Linked DNA regions of Homo sapiens: region 2 is linked to region 1. The links are contacts of gene promoters, found by promoter capture Hi-C in human tissues and cell types (Jung and others, 2019). All regions are on one chromosome and are shown on one strand. The core of a region is centred on a gene start or on the middle of the fragment in contact, and the rest is flanking DNA. Distances in the headings are between cores, read along the strand shown. Region 1 holds the start of FOXK2 (forkhead box K2). Region 2 overlaps NARF (nuclear prelamin A recognition factor).

Region 1 (7,191 bases), core at 1,730-4,229:
AAAGAAAAAAAAATTCCTCTAATATATAAGTGAATATTTAATGAAACAATTTTTTCTGTCTAGGAAATCCTGCCAGAACACTTTGCACCTGTAGGAATTTGTACTATAATTACAAACACATATATGGCAATTAAGACATGTAAATGTAGGTCGGGCATGGTGGCTCACGCCTGTAATCCCAGCACTTTGGGAGGCCCAGGCAAGTGGATCACGAGGTCAATAGATCGAGACAATCCTGGCCAACAGGGTGAAACCTCGTCTACTAAAAATACAAAATTAGCCAGGCGTGGTGGTGAGCACCTGTAATCCCAGCTACTTGGGAGGCTGAGGCAGGAGAATCACTTGAACCTGGGAGGTGGAGGTTGCAGTGAGCCAAGATCGCACCATTGCACTCCAGCCTGGGCAACAAGGGCAAAACTCCACTCAAAAAAAAAAAAAAAAAAAAAAAAGACATGTAAATGTTACATTCAGAGGGACACATTAATTTCCATTTCTTTTAGAAAAAGTTTTTACACATTGAAGGAATAAAAATGCATGAACTGACCCTGATGTCTCCTGCCTGGGGCCCCCAGTTGGTGGTTCCTGTTCAGGATCTCCACTTTATCCTGCTCCGTTTAAGTCCAGTCTCAAGTCTTTCTACTCACACTAAACTCCTTTTGTACCTACATTATGATGATGATGATTATTTTCGAGACAGAGTCTGGCTTTGTCACCCAGGCTGGAATGCAGTGGTGCAATCTCCGCTTGCTTACTGCAATTTCCGCCTCCCGCGTTTAAGCGATTCTCCTGCCTCAGCCTCTCAAGTAGCTGGGATTATAGGCACGTGCCACCACACCCAGCTAATATTTGTATTTTTAGTAGATATGTGGATTCACCATGTTGGCCAGGCTGGTCTCCAACTTCTAACCTCAAGTGATCCACCCACCTCGGCCTCCCAAAGTGTTGGGATTCAGTCATGAGCCACCGTGCCAGGCCTCTGTACCTAAATTATATCATTTCTCTCTTCTAATTGTTCTTTGCTATTTAACAAGCAGCAAATAGAGGAACCCTGGGGTGTTTGCTATAACCTGTATATATAGGCTATAATAGGATCTTCTCCTCACACACCCTGCAGGAACCACCATGCTGAAAGAAGTGAGACAATTCAGGGGGCAGTCCCTCCCCAGCAGAGACTAAATTGGTACCATTTGTTGCTATTTCAGTTTTGCGAAGATGCGCGCTTGGAGCCCAAGCCATGGTTTCTAGGGCTGACACTGACTTCCCACGGAATTCTTCCTGTTTAAGAGGTTGTAGACTTTTCATGATCCTGAACCTTGAACGTCTCCACAACTGGTTAAGTACCCGTGAGATACATTTACAGGATTTTTTCTTTCTTTTCCCAATTTTTTTTTTTTTTTTTTTTTTTGAGACGGAGTCTCCTCTGTCACCCAGGCTGGAGGGCAGTGGCGTGATGTCTGCTCACCACAACCTCCGCCTCCCAGGTTCGAGCGATTCTACTGCCTCAGCCTCCCAAGTAGCTGGGACTGCAGGCACGCCCCACCATGCCTGGCTAATTTTTGTATTTTTAGTAGAGACGGGCTTTTACTATGTTGGGCAGGCTGGTCTTGAACTCCTGACCTTGTGATCCACCCGCCTCGGCTTCCCAAAGCACTGGGATTACAGGTGTGAGCCACCGCGCCCGGCCACAGGATTTTTTCTTTTTAATGTTAGGAGTTTCATTGATTAGTGAACATCTGGACTATTGATCATCTTGATTTAGATGGGATCTTGTAATTTTTTAAACGGTGGCGAAATTCTTTTTTTAAAAACTTAGTATCAGATTGGTTAAGATATTAACTATTCGTTCATGAGAGTTCATATATATATAGTTCATATATATATAGTTCATATATGTATATAGTTCATATATATAGTTCATATATATATAGTTCATATATATATAGTTCATATATATATATATAGTTCACATATATATAGTTCATATATATACATATGAGACGTAGTTTCACTCTTGTTGCCCAGACTGAAGTGCAGTGACGCGATCTCGGCTTACTGCAACCTCCACCTCCCAGGTTGAAGCAATTCTCCTGCCTCCGCCTCCCAGGTTTAAGCAATTCTCCTGCCTCAGCCTCCTGAGTAGCTAGGACTACAGGTGTGCACCACCACACCCGGCTATTTTTTTTTTTTTTTTTGTATTTTTAGTAGAGCTGGGATTTCACCATGTTGGCTAGGCTGGTCTCGAACTCCTGACCTCAGGTGATCCGCTCGCCTCGGCCTCCCAAAGTGCTGGGCTTACAGGCGTGAGCCACCGCGCCCGGCCTCGTGTATATTTTTAAACTGTGTGCTGACGACAGTTAAGTAAATGTGATTCAGAACTTCTGCGTATTTTGCAGGACAGTTTTGACACAATGACATGACTCGCTAGCCAGGAAAGATAACGACATCCAGTCCTGGAGCTGCTGGTTAAAAACGAACGTGTCACCGGGTCCCCTGGGTCTGAGGCCACGCGGCACGCGGCCCCTCCGCGATATTCCCGCACCTCGCGGGGAAAAGGCCGCTCGGCGGCCGGGCCTGGGCTCGCGGGCCGCCGCCTATCCGCACCCCGGCGTCCACGCCGGGTTGGGGGCCGCTGCGTGCCTGGCGCCCGCTGTGACCTTGGGCCTGGTCCCGCCCGCCGCGCCTAAGGCGCTGCCAGGCCGGGCTCAGACCCCCGAGCTCCCGCGCCCGCGCCAACCCCGCGCCAGCCCCGATCCCGCGCGGGCTGCCGACTGTCCGCCCCGGGTTTTCCGCGGCGCCCGGAGTCGGGACTGCGTCGGGCGTCGCCGCCGGACGTGCCGGCAGCTTGGTGCGACGTGTCTTGCCATTGGCCTGCTTCGGTAGCCCCACTGCCGTACGCCGCCCCCATTGGCCGGCGTAACCGTCCGTCAGCGAGGGGCGGGCCCGGCGTGCCGGCTCGGTGGCGCGGCCGCGCGTGCTCCCGCCCCTCGCCGCCGCTCGCTCGCTCGCCGGCCGGCGGCCTCCGCTCGGCCCCCTCCCTCAGCTCCGGTGCGCGGCGGCCGACGACCCGCGCGGCCTGGGCCTCGGCCCGCGCCACCGGCGCCCGCGCGGAGCGGCCCGGGGGCCCTCACGCAGGCCCATGGCGGCGGCCGCGGCGGCGCTCTCGGGCGCGGGCACGCCACCCGCGGGCGGCGGGGCCGGGGGCGGCGGGGCCGGGGGCGGCGGGTCCCCGCCGGGCGGCTGGGCCGTGGCGCGCCTGGAGGGCCGCGAGTTCGAGTATCTGATGAAGAAGCGCTCGGTGACCATCGGCCGCAACTCGTCGCAGGGCTCGGTGGACGTGAGCATGGGCCACTCGAGCTTCATCTCCCGGCGCCACCTCGAGATCTTCACGCCCCCGGGCGGCGGCGGCCATGGCGGGGCCGCTCCGGAGCTGCCGCCCGCGCAGCCCAGGCCCGACGCCGGCGGCGACTTCTACCTGCGCTGCTTGGGCAAGAACGGGGTATTCGTGGACGGCGTGTTCCAGAGGCGCGGGGCGCCGCCGCTGCAGCTGCCGCGCGTGTGAGTGGCCTCGGGGCGGGGCGGGCGGGGTCTGCGGCCTGCAGCGCCTGGCAGGACGGGACGGGACACGCGCCCAGGCCCGGGACCACCCACGAGCGGGGGCCCGACTCTCCCACAGCCGGGACCACCAGCGGGACCCAGGCCCCGGCTGGATCCCAACCCTCGACAGCCCCTGGCCCCGACCCCCGTCCTCCCGGTCCCCTTCCTGGCAGGTGCAGCCCCCCGTCTTTCCCCCTTCCTGGAGCCGGGGCTGCGGGCGGCTGCGCGCGCGGGTCAAGGTTTCTGGGTTCTGTGCGTGCGGGGAGTTCACGTGTGCTGTTTCTATTCTGCAGCGAGGTCGCGCTGAACAGAAATGTGAAAACGGTGTGCGGTGGGAGGAACTGCCCCGAACTAAAATCTATGTCTCTTAACCGATGAAGGGTTGTCTGTTGTCTTTTGTTGTTGTTGTTGTTCAGTCGTTTTCAGTAGTGAGCTGTTTCAAGAGTGCGGTGTTTTAAGCAGGAAGGACTCCTTTTTCCCTGCCGTGTTTTCAGTAGGCCAAATTGGAAGACGCTTCAAGCATGATGGATTTTCAATCTGTGCTCTGAACCTTAAAATTTAGGGAAAACTAGATGCTTTTCGCATAACTTCTACAAAAAGACAGTTGATTAGGAATTATTACAAGGTCATGTAGAGTGTTAAGTCAGCCTGATAGGGAACTGCCTATCCTGCTACAAAACAATTTAGCTTGGTCCTGTGGTTTTATGAAGTTATCGTTTACTCTGCTTGAAACACAAACTTGCTGTCTAGGAAATGCTAATTATTCCTCAGGGGCTCACTTCTAGATCATTGCAAGTACAGCCTTTGTCCACACAAACTGGAATTTTTTTGTTTTTTGTTTTTTGAGACGGAGGCTCACTTTGTCGCTCAGGCTGGAGTGTAGTGGCGCGATCTTGGCTCACTGCAATCTCCGCCCTTTGAGTTCAAGTGGTTCTCCTGCCCCAGCCTCCCGAGTAGCTGGGATTACAGGCGCCTGCCACCGCGCCCGGCTAATTTTTTGTATTTTTAGTAGAGACGGGGTTTCACCATCTTGGCCAGGCTGGTATTGAACTCCTGACCTCGTGATCCACCCGCCTCGGCCTCCCAAAGTGCTGGGATTACAGGCGTGAGCCACCGCGCCCGGCCTACAAATTGGAATTTTTAACGCTTTCGGTTGTTGGAGATGCTGGTAAGAGCTGTTGCTTTTCTTCTTGACTTGCGTGTTGTGTGTGTGTGCATGCGCTGTTCTGTTTCTTAGCATGGAAAGGTGCACCAGCATATTCCTTAAACTTTGGTAGTAGCATTTTAAAGAATGTTATTTTCAGGCCGGGCGCGGTGGCTCACGCCTGTAATCCCAGCACTTTGGGAGGCCGAGGCGGGTGGATCACGAGGTCAGGAGGTCGAGACCATTCTGGCTAACACGGTGAAACCCGTCTCTACTAAAAATACAAAAAAAAAAAAAAAATTAGCCGGGCGCGGTGGCGGGCGCCTGTAGTCCCAGCTACTCAGGAGGCTGAGGCAGGAGAATGTGAACCCTGGAGGTGGAGCTTGCAGCCAGCGAGATCGCACCACTGCACTCCAGCCTGGGGGACAGAGGAAGACTCCGCCTCAAAAAAAAAAAAGAAATTTTCAAATGAAAATGCTATTTATGTGTGTTTATACTGTAGACGGTATGAAATCAATGGTAGGGTCCTAATGGCTACCCTTTAATCTGACTTTTTTTTTTTTTTTTTTTTTTTTACAAAATACTGTGTCACAACAAAGGAAGTTTGCGTCTACTGTGAGGATCTTGAGTTTTTGTTTGTTTGTTTTTGATTTTGAGACACGGTCTCTGTGACCTAGCCTGGAGTGTACTGGTATGATGACAGCTCACTGCAGCCTCAAACTTCTGGGCACAAGCGATCCTCCTGCCCCAGTGCTCAGGAGTTTGAAGTTGCTGTGAGCTATGATTGCACCACTGCATTCCAGGCTGGGATTACAGGTGTGAGCTATGATCTCACCACTCCTCCCACATACCTGGCCAAGATTTTGAGTTTTTTGGAATTTTTTTTTTTTTTTCCTGAGACGGAGCCTTGCTCTGTCCCCCAGGCTGGAGTGCAGTGGCGCAATCTCGGCTCACTGCAAGCTATGCCTCCCGGGTTCACATCATTCTCCTGCCTCAGCCTCCCGAGTAGCTGAGACTACAGGCACCCGCCACTACGCCCAGCTAATTTTTTTTTGTATTTTTAGTAGAGACGGGGTTTCACCATGCTAGCCAGGATGGTCTCGATCTCCTGACCTCATGATCTGCCCGCCTCGGCCTCCCAAAGTGCTGCGATTACAGGCATGAGCCACTGTGCCTGGCCCGATTTTGAGTTTTTAAAGAAAATTCTCCTCACCATTCAGCCAGAACGATTTGTATTGAATTGAATTCTGCACATGCTAACATGATAAACATGGAGATAAGTTGACCTTTCAGTGAGGGCCAGAATTCAGACCTTATTTTTTTGAGACGGAGTCTCGCTCTGTTGCCAGGCTGGAGTACAATGGCGTGATCTTGGCTTGCTGCAACCTCCGCCTCCCTGGTTCAAGCAATTCTTGTGCCTCAGCCTCCTGAGTAGCTGGGATTACAGGCACACGCCACCACACCCAGCTAATTTTTGTATTTTTAGTAGAGATGGGGTTTTACCATGTTGGCCAGGATGGTCTTGATCTCCTGACCTCGTGATCCACCCGCCTTGGCCTCCCAAAGTGCTGGGATTACAGCTGTGAGCCACCACGCCTGGCCGAATTCAGACCTTTTGAACAGTAGGAATGAGTCTTGCAGTAGAGATGAGTAAGAAGGGCAGTGAGATGGAGGCTGGGCCTCCCACTTGTGCTCAGGGAAGAGTCTTGTGGCCACCGAGGTGAACATGTATCCTGGACTTCTCATGGGCCTGGGACTCTCTACCCGTACTGAGTACACAAGGGGATGAGTGGCTTTTTTCACAGAGGGGAGTTTAGCATTTGTGCGGTGTGAATTAAATTATTAACCTAGAGGATATTTCAGCACTTCCTTTTTTGTAAGGTATCATTTCCAAATTTGTGGTGTAGGGCAGTAACACAGGTTAATGGAATAAATCATAAAGAATTGGTACCAGTGAAATGCAGATAAATTGTTTAAAATCTTTTTTTTTTTTTTTTAAGACAGAGTTTTTCGCTCTTGTTGCCTAGGCTGGAGTGCAATGGTATGATCTCGGCTCATTGCAACCTCCGCTTCCTGGGCTCAAGCGATTCTCCTGCTTCAGCCTCCCGAGTACCTGGGATTACAGGTGTGCACTACACCACCGCACCCAGTTAATTTTGTATTTTTAGTAGAGACAGGGTTAATCCATGTTGGTCAGGCTGGTCTTGAACTCCTGACCTCAGGTGATCTGCTCACCTCCGCCTCCCAAAGTGCTGGGATTACAGGTGTGAGCCACCACACCTGGCCCTAAAATCTTTTTTTCTGAATTTAAGCTCAGTGTTCAGGTTGATGATACAAGTTCTTTTTAAGTTTAAAAATCAAATTAAATGTATAAGCTTGAAAGCACACGTAACTTAGAGTAATTATGTAAAGGCCAAAGTATTATTACGAGTCTCACTCTGTTGTCCAGGCTG
Region 2 (7,191 bases), core at 1,382-3,881, 38 kb before region 1:
GAGAATGAGGCCCCGGACCTTGCCCAGAGATGCTGCCTGCCTGCTGTTGGGATGCCTCACCCAAGGAGGCCTAAAGTGGCCTGTGCCTGGAGGCTGAGGGCAGCTGTCATTTAGGGAGCCAAACCTGGCCTCTGCCCTGGCCTTTCCCTCAGACCACGGGCATCACATGACTTCCTTAGCCACTTCTGTGAGATTCCACAGTGGCCATGATGCTGTCCTCCTCTTGATGGAGTGAGTCCCGGCCTGAGGCTCCTGCGTGCCCCCTGCCTCGGCCCGTCGTGTTCTCCCTTCCCACAACCCTCTGCGGCCCCCAGGTCCTCCCAGAACTCCCTGATGTCTCCAAGGCCACCCTCAAAGGGACCCTAATCCCATGGTTTATTCTCCAGCCGCTGGCATGCCCCACACTGCTCTTCTCAATCAGACTTTACACCTCCCTCCGGGGAAGCAGCCATGTCCAGGCACTGTGGTAACTGGAGTAGAGGGTAACATCAGGATCTTTCAGACATTTGAAGTCAGCCTAAAAAGGCACGCACATTTGGCAGCCTTGTTATTTTAGCAATAGGCAGTGTTTTCCTTCTATCTAGTTTCTTTCTACCCATAAAGTCATAATTTGGCAAATTATAAACATGATGTCAGAGTATACACGTTCAGTTTAGGCAGGACCGAAAAATGAGCTATGGGACTTTCTGTCCCTTGCCCTGCCCCCACCTGAAGAGAGCCATGTGTTTCTAGGTCTTCCACGTGCTGCCCTCTCCCCTGGATGGAGCCCAGAGCTATGTGTCCTCCTGTAGGTGCCATGAGGGGCAGCCGCAGAGACCCGGCCTCCAGCAGCCTCTCACCTGACCACCTGGCACAGCTGCAACCAGGGGCGGGTTTCCTCTTTTGCTCCGCCCCTGCCCTGAGTGGGTCCTTTCCACCCAGACCTCACCACAGGGTCACTTGGCAACTGCTGGCTCCTGGCTTTGCCACCAGTTCAGGCCCAGCCACAGGCACCTGCTCTGTGTGGACCCAGGAGAGGGGTAGCTTGGGTGGGCATCGCTTGGGAAGATTCAGGAAAGTCTGTGGGTGAAGTAGCCAGCGCGCGCACACACACACACACACACACACTCACTCAGGCCTCCTGCAATGGCTCCATGCTGGACCAGCAACAGCTCCACGCCGGCTGGACTTCCTCTTACTTGTTTTGTCCCCATGTGCACAGGTTCAGGAGGAAATGGGCTCAGCCTTCCCGGTTCTTCCAGGAGGCTCCACTGGCTGGGGGGCTTTGCAGATGTTTGGGAGGACCACACCCAGTCCTGAGGGAGGCAGCAGACAGACATGGATGGAGTGCTGGTGCTCGGTAGAGTTGAAGAGGGGATGGGAGCCAGATGTGGCTACAGCACTTTCATCTGTGGGGCCCGGCCTCAGACCCACAACAGTCCCAGCCCCAAGAAAGTGCTGCATGCAGCCAGGCTCGATGGCTCACGCCTGTAATTCTAGTACTTTGGAGGCCGAGGCGGGCAGATTGCCTGAGCTCAGGAGTTTGAGACCAGCCTGGGCAACACGGTGAAACCCCATCTCTACTAAAGTACAAAAAATTAGCCAGGCGTGGCGGCATGCGCCTGTAGTCCCAGCTACTCGGGAGGCTGAGGCAGGAGAATCGCTTGAACCCGGGAGGCAGAGTTTGCAGTGAGCTGAGATCACGCCACTGCACTCCAACCTGGTGACAGAGCAAGACTCCATTTCAAAAAAAAAAAAAAAAAAAGAGTGCAGCATGCAGTGTCTGGAGGGCAGCAGCAGGGGGCATTCGGTCTCCCATCCCTCTTGTTCTGGGCACCAAGCGTAAGCTGCCGTCACCTCTTCACCAGCCCTAAATATGGGTGCCCCTCTCCCACAGAACCTGTCTCCAGAGAAGATTTTCCACGTCATTGTGGCCCCTTGTTATGACAAGAAGCTGGAGGCTCTTCAGGAAAGCCTTCCCCCTGCTTTGCATGGCTCCCGGGGCGCTGACTGCGTGTTAACATCAGGTGAGAGGTGGGCGGGGGTGCACCTGGGCGCTGGGGTAATCTCCTACTGGCCAGTACACACCAGAGCCAGGCAGATCTGTGTCCCAGAGCCATCTCAGTGCCTGCCAATGTGGTCGCTTGTCTGAAGTTACTGACAGCTGAGGGTCCTAGGGGCTTAACTGCAGGTGAAGAGAAGGGTCATGTTCGATCTAGCCTCCTGTCTCCTCTGTGCATCTTCCTCAAGATAAATCAGGTCTCAGCTGGGCACAGTGGCTCACGCCTGTAATCTAAGCACTGGGAGGCCAAGGCAGGTGGATCACCTGAGGTCAGGAGTTCGAGACCAGCCTGACCAACATGGAGAAACCCCGTCTCTACTAAAACTACAAAAAACTAGCCGGGCATGGTGGCACATGCCTGTAATCCCAGCTGCTCGGGAGGCTGAGGCAGGAGAATCGCTTGAACCCGGGAGGCAGAGGTTGCAGTAAGCCGAGATCGCGCCATTACCCTCCAGCCTGGGCAACAAGAGTAAAACTTTGTCTCAAAAAAAAAAAAAAAAGATAAATCAGGTCCTGGGAGAACCACTTGGGCAGTGTGGTGGCCCTAACTTTACATTACAGTCCATGTAAGGTACTTATCTCTTGGTGGGAAAGTTGTCTATAGCCATAGCGGGTCTCCTAATCACAAACCAAGTCTGCACTTAAAACACAAGTGAAGTTTTTTTCATTCAGAATAAAATGAAAAAGGCACGTTTGCTCCAGTGATATTGCCTTTACCACGGTATTGGCCACTCCTTTCAGATGTTAAGAGCCTACAGTGAGTTCTGTGTGTGTTGTGGATGGAAGTGATTCCCTGGAATTATGTAGAACCCATTCAGAAGAATGTTGACATCAGTTGGTGGGGGAAGCTTAAGACTTTGTTAAAATTCTGGCGGAACTGTTTTAATTGGTCTCTGAAAACAGGTCCCTGCAGGTATTTAGATCAGTGGTAGATGAGGCAGAGAGGTCAGCTCTCAGGGACAATCTTTAAGGGCGCCAATGTCCCTCACAGGCCCCTGACTTGAAATTCTAGCACGCAGACGCCTCTGGAAAGGTCCCCACCCCATAGGCACAGGCTCCCTGTGGGGTGATGTGGCAGGGGTGTTGAAGGATGAGGGATAGAAGGGTCCTCAGCACGGCCATCCTTCACTCTCAGAGGAAGGGCCCAGGGGCCATCTGCTTACGTTGACAAAATAAAACATGCGCGGTGGGCTGTCAGAAGAACCATGTCCAGCCATCTTTTTTCTGAGTGCAGATTTATAGGAAATTACGCTATTTTCTTACCTGTGTTTCCAGCCATCTCACAGCATCTAATGTGATGCCACAGCCATAGTTTTAGAGGCTCAGTTTTTCTATTAAGGGTTTTTTCAGGCATCCTCATGTAAAAGGAAATACAGAAAGTGGTTCTCACTTTCAGTTGATCTCATTGCAGAATAAACAATTGTCATATAAATGTAGCTGGGTACAATGGCTCAGACCTCTAATTCCAGCCACTCAGGAGGCTATGGCTGGAGGATCACTTGAGCCCAGGAGTTTGAGACCTTGCTGGGCAACACAGTGAGACCTCGTCTCTTTTTTTTTATTTTTTGAGACGGAGTCTCACTCTGTCACCCAGGCTCTGCAGTGGCTCCATCTTGGCTCACTACAACCTCCGCGCCTCCTAGGATCAAGCGATTCTCCTCCCTCAGCCTCCCGAGTAGCTGGGATTACAGGTGCGCCCCACCACACCAGGCTAATTTTTGTGTTTTTAGTAGAGAGGGGGTTTCGCCATGTTGGCTAGACTGGCGACCTTGTTTCTTAAAAAAAAAAGGGCTGGGTGCAGTGGCTGACACGTGTAATCCCAGCACTTCAGGAGGCTGAGGCAGGCTGGTCACCTGAGGTCAGGAGTTCGAGACCAGTCTGGCCAACATGGTGAAACCCCCGTCTCTACTAAAAATACAAAAATTAGCCAGGCGTGGTAGTGCACACCTGTAATCACAGCTACTCAGGAGGCTGCGGCAAGAGAATCACTTGAACCCGGGAGGCAGAGGTTACAGCGAGACAAGATTGCACCACTGGACTCCAGCCTGGGCGGCGGAGGTGAGACTCCATCTCAAAAAAAAAAAAATGCAACCAGTGTATATTTCATCATCCTATCTCTGTGAGCTTGTTATACACAAAAGTTTTCTGTTTGTTTCATGCAAAGTAGGCCAAAAAAGTTTACAGATTTTCCACATGGGAAAATCATGGAGAGATTGTTTACATAAATCCCACAGTTCAAGGGCAGAAAGAGGAATGGAAAGAGGAGTTAGAATTGAATTCTGCTTACGTTTTATTAGTGTTTCATTTTATTGGCCTCACTTTGCCCTTTAGATGGACTCCTGCTGTGTGTGATGGAGATTTCATAAGAGGGAGGTCACCCAGGGTCACTAATGTCAAATCTCCTGCAGGGGAAGAAAAGTTCCTGTGGCCACCTGTGTCTTTTCAGTGTCTTACTTCGTTTGTCTGCAGGTGAAATTGCTCAAATAATGGAGCAAGGTGACCTCTCAGTGAGAGATGCTGCCGTCGACACTCTGTAAGTGGCTTCTCTGGGGAGAGTCCTCTGGGGGGCAGGACCTCTCGTCAGCCCTGCCAGCCACCTGCCAGGCCCAGGGCTGCCCTGCTTTATGACGAGGCCATGTGAAGCACTGCGATGCAGTCCCCCAGGCCCCTGCCACAACCCTCAGCCACCCTATAGCTGTTGAATGGGATACCATTCACCAGGGCTGCCAGGGAGTTGAAGGTTTGGCGGGCTTCCATGGTGTGATTGCCACCCTAAACCCTTGAGGAAGGACAAAATGCACAAACAGCTTTGTCCTCGCTGGCGCAGGGCTGTTCATGTGTGCACCAGCCCCCTTCTTCCTGAGTGCCGTCTGTGCCTCACATTCCGTGTGGTCTATGGGGCAGTGGGGCAGCTCCCTCAGGCCCCTTTGCACCAAGAGTGGCAGTCTGGGTTCTGCTGGGGGCGGTGACCTCGATACCCAGCAAGGCCCAGGGCTCCTGCTGCACCCCAGGCACTGGGCAGAGAGCACCACAAAGGCAGCAGCGTGTGTCCTCGCCAACAGTCCGCATCCCAGGTGCTGCATTCGTGCCCTTTTGGGGGAAGGTAAGATAGAAGTTTACAGAATTTAAGCATCTGTGGGGCCAGGCGTGGTGGCTCACACCTATAATCACAGTACTTTGGGAGGCTGAGGTAGGAGGATCACTTGAGTCCAGGAGGCTGGGGCTGTAGTGAGCTATGATTGTGCCACTGCACTCCAGCCTGAGAGACAGAACAAGACCCTGTCTCCAAAAGAAAAAGACCATAAGCATCTGGAGCACCTGCAAGAGCCTGTGCATGGGCTCGGCGTGACTGAGAGTCCTCCGCCTTGCCCGAGCATCAGGCAGGCCCTCCCAAGACCCCTCAAGATGCTAGAATGGGACTTTCTGCAAAGTTTAAACATCTGTACAGGATTTAGCTTCTTTGGTGGCGAACTTGGATTGTGATGCCCTCAGGAAGTCTGGTTTCACTCTTTCTGTCACTGTACGTCAGCATTCATGAAGGACTTGTATTTTCTCTGCCTTGTGAGGTTTGGAGACTTGAAGGAGGACAAAGTGACGCGTCATGATGGAGCCAGCTCAGACGGGCACCTGGCACACATCTTCAGACATGCGGCCAAGGAGCTGTTCAACGAGGATGTGGAGGAGGTCACTTACCGAGCCCTGAGGTGTGGGGCAGTATCCACAGCCTGTCTGTGCCTGTGGTTAGCACGTGTGCATGGTGTGCCTGTATGGATCTGTGCATGTGGCGGTTCTATGGATGGAGTTTACACTAGTCAAAATCAAAAGGACTTTTTTGTGTTTATTCAGACCTTTTATTTTGCTGACATTCCAAACTTACATTAGAAAGTGTTCTTGGCCGGGTGCGGTGGCTCGTGCCTGTAATCCCAGCACTCTGGGAGGCCGAGGCGGGCGGATCATGAGGTCAGGAGATCGAGACCATCCTGGCTAACACAGTGAAACCCTATCTCTACTAAAAATACAAAAAATTTGCCGAGTGTGGTGGTGAGCGCCTATAGTCCCAGCTACTCGGGAAGCTGAGGCAGGAGAATGGCGTGAACCCGGGAGGCAGAGGTTGCAGTGAGCCAAGATGGTGCCACTGCACTCCAGCCTGGGCAACAGAGCAAGACTCCGTCTCAAAAAAAAAAAGGAAGTGTTCTTAAGTCACAGATAAAGGACTTGATGGATCAAAATTCTCTGTGTTCATTTTGTAGAAACAAAGACTTCCAAGAGGTCACCCTTGAGAAGAACGGAGAGGTGGTGTTACGCTTTGCTGCAGCCTATGGCTTTCGAAACATCCAGAACATGATCCTGAAGCTTAAGAAGGGCAAGTTCCCATTCCACTTTGTGGAGGTCCTCGCCTGTGCTGGAGGTGAGGCGCCAAGAGCAGCACCTGGCTCTGTCTCCCACGGGTGCTCAGGCCACACTGGTCCTGCAGCTGCCAGAGAGATGGTGCTCTTGGCCACCCAGAGCCTCTCTCAGCCCTGAGAGCTTTGTAGGGTATGGATGCTCCCGTGGGGCTTGTGCTGGGACATTCTAGGCTCCATTGGTTTTGCTCTTTTCCTCACCCCATGTAGCATGTGGGCATTCTCTTGGGGACGTGCCCTCAGGAGGCCCAACATGGCACCAGGTGAGAGTCAGCCCGTGGCGGCTGGCTTAGAGAACAAATCACAAGAGTTGAGGCTGCCCTGCCTAGGAGAAACACCCCTGCCCCGTGCCAGGCACCAAGCATGAGCCTTCTCTGTCCTGAGTGATGGGAGAGAGCAGTGAGAGGTGGAAGCGGGAAGGGGTGTGACCCAGCCTGGGCCTGAGGGGCTCCCTTGTTGCGTGGAGGGAGGGTGGGCCACTGTGGGCTGTGATCATCCAGGCAAGTGAGGAAGGATCCCCACCTGGGGCAGGGGGAGTGAGAGGATGAGAGGAGGCCAGGACACGGTGGGGGTCTCCGGGAAGGACTTGCTGAGGGTGTGTCAGGGAAGAAGGGGACCCTCTGCCCCTGACCCATGGTGGTCCATCTGCGCCCCTGGTGGGGAACTGAGGACCTTTGTGCCATTGTGAGTCGGGGGGGGCACCACGAGGGACTCGAGTGGAAATGCCGGGTGCAGGTCAGTTGGAGG

Evidence for each region. Contacts are between HindIII fragments. The study calls those that stand out against the background at their distance.
Region 2: a fragment that was not itself captured here is called in contact with the fragment with the promoter of FOXK2 in region 1 in 1 of the 25 tissues and cell types used here (spleen).

Annotation. Positions count from the first base shown.
Region 1 is chr17:82,516,753-82,523,943 of GRCh38, forward strand. It overlaps FOXK2 (forkhead box K2), which reads left to right and starts at 2,980. Exons shown (of 9, transcript NM_004514.4): 1 at 2,980-3,555. The coding sequence starts at 3,137. RefSeq lists silencers at 2,400-3,059, 3,510-3,689, 3,770-3,819. The HindIII fragment of the contact is 19,651 bases long and covers 1-7,191 here.
Region 2 is chr17:82,479,206-82,486,396 of GRCh38, forward strand. NARF (nuclear prelamin A recognition factor) reads left to right here. Exons shown (of 11, transcript NM_012336.4): 7 at 1,877-2,006; 8 at 4,511-4,574; 9 at 5,608-5,745; 10 at 6,292-6,449. Among named protein-coding and RNA genes, the nearest start is that of TRX-CAT1-8, 12 kb to the right of the region's middle. The HindIII fragment of the contact is 4,020 bases long and covers 622-4,641 here.